Linked DNA regions of Homo sapiens: region 2 is linked to region 1. The links are contacts of gene promoters, found by promoter capture Hi-C in human tissues and cell types (Jung and others, 2019). All regions are on one chromosome and are shown on one strand. The core of a region is centred on a gene start or on the middle of the fragment in contact, and the rest is flanking DNA. Distances in the headings are between cores, read along the strand shown.

Region 1 (2,997 bases), core at 218-2,717:
TTGCTGCTAGCCACGCCTTGCAGTGACTTCTCGTCTGGGAGTGGGCACTGAGTCCTCTCAGTAAACTAATAAGACTTGCACCTGACAAAGGTCAAGATATGTAGGGAACACAGTGTATGCTAGGCTGAGACCTATGGTGGTGGCAGGGGTGGCTGTTGAGCCTGAACTTCCAGTACTCCTGCCCTTCCTTCTGTTTACCTGGCTTGGCCTACAGGGGGCACCCCTGGTCTTGATGCCTCAAGCCCAGCATTTCTGGGTCCCCTCTGCAAGCTCAGAGAGCAGGGAGGCTTCTGGTAGTGCTCTTGATGCTCCTGTGTCTGGTTGGCACAAAGATCCTGTGTAACATGAAATGAAAGGTGCATCAGCTTGGGGGCTGGGAAACCTGCAGTATGGGTTTACTCCGTCCCTATCACTGGTGTGGCTGTGGGCAAACCACTTATTGCCTGACCTACCTCACAGGGATGTTGTGAGGGTTTGATGAGAGAATGAATGTTAATAGGAATTGGAAAATTCAAAGCATTAAACACATGTAAACAGGTGGTATTATTATGTTCTTGTCCTTCTCTTTCACTGAGCCAGGCTTTGGGCTTTATGCTTCTTAGGCAATAAACAGTTATGGATAATGACAGGGGATCTAAGTCTCAGAGAGTTGTTCTGGCCATCATAAGAAAACATGGACACATTTCTTCCTTCCAGATGCAAGGTCAGCTCTTACCAACTCCTGCCAGAAATGCCACCACGGCCATGACTAGTGAAGTTTGCCGTAAGTGCTGCCTACCTGGTGTTCCCAAATCACAGGGCAGACTGCAGATCTCGGAGTCAGTACAATTCCTCCCTAGGTCCAGCCTGAAGTTCCTGGAGCTGGTCTTCGTAGGGAGCTGCAGGTCACAAGTCTATCTAAATCTCTCCTAATTCTGCCCTTCTGAGGGAAAAGTGGAGCAGACAAGCTAGGAAGGGAGGAGCAACTGGAGCAAACAGCATCGCCACAGACCCTCTGTTTACCGAAGCCACAGAATGAGCAACACCTGCCTCAGGCATTGGAGATGCAGAGCAGGGACCCCTGGCTTCCCAGGGTCCACAGCCTGGTTTCCCTTTCCCCATTTCAGGCTCGTGGAATAGGATCAGTCCCCTCCTCCTCCAAGTGCTTTATTGGCATTCACATACACACACACACACACGCACACACACACACTGAAAGCAGTTCTGTTTAAGTTTTAAATTGGGGAAGAATACTTTCCATTCCATTTGTCTGAGAGCAGCAGCAGTCTGCCTGGAGTGGATGCAAAGAAGCAGGAACAGCAAAACAGCAGTGCAGAGGCTTGAATATTCGTTTTTTATCTTAATTGCTTTTTCTGTCCTGGGATCCAGGAATGAAACACTAGTCAGGCATTGTGTGCAGAGCCTCAGCAGTTCTCACCAGCACTGCACAAAGACGACAAGCTGAAAGGCAGAACTGCCCTGGAGGGTGGTTTGAAGTAGCCCGTCTCCAGCATGGCGCTGGGCTTAACCCCTTCATGTAGGCAGAAATTACCTCCAGTGAGGGGACCTTCCCCCTACCCACCCACTCAGGAGACTCAGCTAGTCACCAGATGCATCACAGAATAACAATCTCAGTTTATAATCCTGCTATTGCTAGGATTTCCCAGATGAGTTTTTAACCTCTGTTGGAAGCAGATTAAGGAACGACTTCAGGCTATTCAGTGGCATCTGAGGAGCCAACTCTGTCTCACTGAGTATACATGAGTGGCCCCCTAGCACCCCTATCTTTAAAGCAGATACCCAGTTATCTCATGGTGCTTTCTAAGGATGCTCAGTTCTGCTCAGGCCCCCCAAAAGCAAACTATGACCAAGTGAGGGAGCAGTGGGAGGTAAGGGAAATGCAGCACAAAGTACAATCCAACTCCAGTACTTGCCAACCTGTATGTGTGCGCACATGCACGCATACACCAGCCTTGGAGGCAATGACTCCTGCCTAATGTATGCCAGTGCCAAAGGGCATCCAGAAGTCCCACTGCAGGGCTCCACGTCCTGGCTCACTGCAGGTTGGTTCTCTCAGGCCATGGTTCCAACCAGGGAGAGTAAACAAGCTGACTAGATTGGAGGCGTCAGGGCAGGTCTAAGTGTCTTCACCATTTTGCATTTTCCACCTAAGAGTGTAGAAGCCTGATGAAGGGGCTTGACTGGCAGCTGCTTTAGCCTTCCTCTCTCAAGCCCCAGGAGAGGAAGCATTCAGCACAGGCTGACTGTGACTAGACCAGAAAAGCCAACCGTCCCACTGCAGGGGCCTGAGCCTTTTCTGCTATGTGGGTGGAGAAAGTGAAGCTTCCCCACTGGTTTCCTGGGAGATACAAGATAAGTGGTGCAAGAAGTGCATGCAGAAAGGGAAGGAGTTGAGAGACTGGGGGGAAGAGAGGCCAGGTTAACCAATGCACTGAACTCTTACCTATTCTCAAAGAAAACTGTCATATTAGCCTCCTCCCTCCCCGCAAGTGCTACCTAAGAGGAGCCAGGGTAAGTGCTGCAAGGCATGGCAGACAAAATTGCACATCTTGGCCAGAATCTAAGGAACTTCTTGTGGTTTGGGGGAGGTGGTGAGGATGTGGGTGGTGGGTGGGTGGGGGGTGTTGAAGAGATGCAGCCATGGACTTCCTTGGGCTTGGCACAGGCCAAAACAGAAGAGAGAACTCCAAACTCCAAGTAGTCCTCATCAGACTTGCTCTCCTTATCAGCTTCATCCTGTCAGCCAAATTGTCAGCCATAGAAAAACTGCTTTGCAGATGAAAAACTATATAAATGCAGAGTATGGGAGTGCTCTGACATCAACAGCTGTCATTTCACTGACTGCCAAGGTTGACTTGTCTGATGTGGCTGGTTGTGCAGTAGCTCCACCCCTCGTCACCTTGGTTGTTCCTCCTGAAGTGAAAAACAACTTTCCAAATAGAGGAGGGCTGCCCTTCGGTCAAGACTTTAGGTAAGTATTCAAATTCGCATTCTTTT
Region 2 (2,997 bases), core at 422-2,921, 210 kb after region 1:
AAGAACACACATGGGTCAGGAGCCAGGTCCAGGTCCGGCATGGTGGATCTGGAGAGGGGAGAGTCCCTGCCTGTGATCCTGTGGGGAGCCCTCAGGCTCCTCTCTGGCCACCATCCTCTGACCTCCCTCCTCAGCAGGACAGGGTTCTGGCTTCTCTGAGGGACAGGTTCTGTGGCAGACCAGGTGTCACTAACACAGGCCTCCATAACAACTGTTTCAGTACTGACTGAGTGATGAAATTAAATATTAAAAGCTGAAAAAAGCCAGTACCTTTATACAGAGGCTGGATGTAACAAAAGCCCACCAAGAGTTTTGCTTAGGCCTTTCCTGGGCCTTAAAGCATGACAAAACAACGAAGGAATTCTTAACAGGACCTATTTAGAATTAAACAAGTTTTATTGTGAGTCTGAAGAAACTCCCCAGGCCTCCACAAACAAGTTTACTGGGCATCTGAAGGAACTCCCCAAACCTCCATGATTTAGCAGGAGACAAGATAAGGGCAATCATCCCCCGCACCTGGACCCATTTAGATTAAGTAAATAGACTGAGGCTCCAGAGTAAGGTCCTCAGGACCCAGACCTCAGTTACAGATTAAAGAAGTTAATCACTTATGTCTTTAGATGAATGCACACTTACTTGTAGACATATACCTTAGAAGGTATATATGCTCTGGAAAACTTTAATTTTGAGTTGGTCTGGTAGTAATTTCCAGGCCTTCTCCCTGTAACTGGTTGCAGAAATAAAACCTCTCTTCCTCCCCATTTGATCTGCATCTCGTTATTGGGCCTAGAGAAATAGCAGCCGGACCCTCAGTTTGGTCCGGGAAGTTCTTCCATCCTCCCTCGCCTGCTCTCTGTGGCCACTGCACTCACTGTTGCTGTTGCTGTTCCGGTCTCTGTGAGGTTCACCTAGTGGACTGGCTGGACATTTCTAGGGGGCACCTCAGATACCTCACCAACTTGCTGGATCTGATCCTTGGATTTCGATTCATAAATTGTGCCAAAATACGAAGTGGCTAATTTACATAGTACTTAGCCAGATGACCGAAGGACTCAGTATCCAAAGGCCCCTAACAGAAAACACAGACCACATTTCCTTTACTCTGGCCCTTTTCCTGGGGGTCCTTCCTATACCACTGACACTGTTCCTGTGTAGGCGGGGCTAGAGGGGAGACTAAGCCCTCGGAGTAGCTTTCGGATCAGAGGAAGTCCTGCTCTTACAGTGACAGGGGCTGAATTAAATTCCCAGGTTGGGACCACCACTTTTTAGTCTGACCCCTGCAGCCGGAGTCTCCCAGAGCCCTTGGGAACTCGGCAGCGGAGAGAAGGCTGAGGGATTCTGCGGGCAGGGAGGAGAAGGGAGAAGAGCTTTGCTCCGTTAGGATCTGGCTGGTGTCTCAAGCGCACAGCCAAGTCGCTGTGGACCTAGCAAGGGCTGGATGGACTCATGGAGCCTCAGGGCGGGTTGGGGAAGCTGGCGAGGCCGAGCCCCGCTTTGGGCTTCTGGGCGCCCTGACCTCGCTCCCGGAACCCTGGGGACTGGGAGGCGGGAGGGGGCTTATTGATTCCAGCCCCGGGCGCTCGCTCGGGGGCCTACAGAATGGCGTGTTTCGGGGTTGTGGCGGGCCGAGGGGCGGGGTCGCAGCAAGGCCCCGCCTGTCCCCTCCTGGGCCTCTCAAAGTCTGAGCCCCGCTCCGCTGATGCCTGTCTGCAGAATCCGCACCAACCAGCACCATGCCCATGACTCTGGGGTACTGGGACATCCGTGGGGTAAGCGAGGGTCCTCTGGTGGGTGGGACAGGGGGCGGAGGCGGGGATGTGTGGAGTAGCTGCAGGACTGGCTCTAGGGACCGTTCCTCTTCAGGGCTGCCCGCCTCAGAAGGGCCTGTGCATGACGCTGTGTGTGTGTTTGGGGGTGGGGGCGGGTAGAGGAGGCGACGGGTACGTGCAGTATAGACTAGGGGCTGGCCTGGTGCAGAGAAAGTCACCAAGTCAGGGACCCTCCATCTCTGACCCGAGCCGCGGGCCATCTCTCCCAGCTGGCCCACGCCATCCGCTTGCTCCTGGAATACACAGACTCAAGCTATGTGGAAAAGAAGTACACGCTGGGGGACGGTAATGGCACCCTCGTGTCCGGGCCCTGCCCACTCACGCTGAGTTGGCACCAAGCAACCCATGGTGGCCACCTGTGGCTGCCTCTGCAGGCCTCCCCTGCTGGAGCTGCAGGCTGTCCCTTCCCTGAGCTCCCGTGAGTGAGCCCTCTGGCCTTGCAAGGCAGAATGCTGGGGCGGGATGCTGGACACCCTGTCTAATTGGGTTGGGTGTCCCTCAGAGCTTCCCTAAACCCTGGAAGCCTTAGCCGTTGTGGGGTCCAGAGCCCTCAGTGGGATTCTTTCTCCCTGAACCCTGGGATGTGGGACTGAGTGGTCAGATTCTAGATCCACCTGTCTCAGGGATCTTGCCACTGGCTCCTTGGGAGGGTCCCCGGGAAGGAGGGCTGGGCTCTGGGGAGGTTTGTTTTCACTTCTTCCCCACCACAGCTCCTGACTATGACAGAAGCCAGTGGCTGAATGAAAAATTCAAGCTGGGCCTGGACTTTCCCAATGTAGGTGCAGGGGAAGGGGCGGTTTTGGGGGAAAGTGCGACGTGTCTCTGACTGCATCTCCTCTCCCCACCTTAGAGGTGTTAAGATCAGGAGTCTTCTGCCCAATTCCTCTCACTCTTGGCTGTCTACACAGCCCTTGCATGATGTTCTGTGTCCCAGCTCATTTATTAGTGTGACAGTATTTCTATCTCAGGCCTGCCATGAGCAGGCCCTGGTCTCCTCTCTGCCCTTGCATATGGGAAGGGGATGCTGGGGAGCCTGGTGGCCCAACTGAGCTTCCCCGGTTTCCCATCTATCCAGCTGCCCTACTTGATTGATGGGGCTCACAAGATCACCCAGAGCAATGCCATCCTGCGCTACATTGCCCGCAAGCACAACCTGTGTGAGTGTGGG

What was found. Contacts are between HindIII fragments. The study calls those that stand out against the background at their distance.
Region 2: a contact is called between the fragment with the promoter of GSTM5 here and a fragment that was not itself captured in region 1, in 3 of the 25 tissues and cell types used here (lymphoblastoid cells, mesenchymal stem cells and small bowel).

The regions. Positions count from the first base shown.
Region 1 is chr1:109,499,893-109,502,889 of GRCh38, forward strand. CYB561D1 (cytochrome b561 family member D1) reads left to right here. Exons shown (of 3, transcript NM_182580.3): 3 at 1-543. Among named protein-coding and RNA genes, the nearest start is that of CYB561D1, 7.3 kb to the left of the region's middle. RefSeq lists an enhancer at 1-96. The HindIII fragment of the contact is 8,294 bases long and covers 1-2,997 here.
Region 2 is chr1:109,710,580-109,713,576 of GRCh38, forward strand. GSTM5 (glutathione S-transferase mu 5) reads left to right here and starts at 1,672. Exons shown (of 8, transcript NM_000851.4): 1 at 1,672-1,769; 2 at 2,039-2,114; 3 at 2,540-2,604; 4 at 2,905-2,986. The coding sequence starts at 1,734. The HindIII fragment of the contact is 7,760 bases long and covers 1-2,997 here.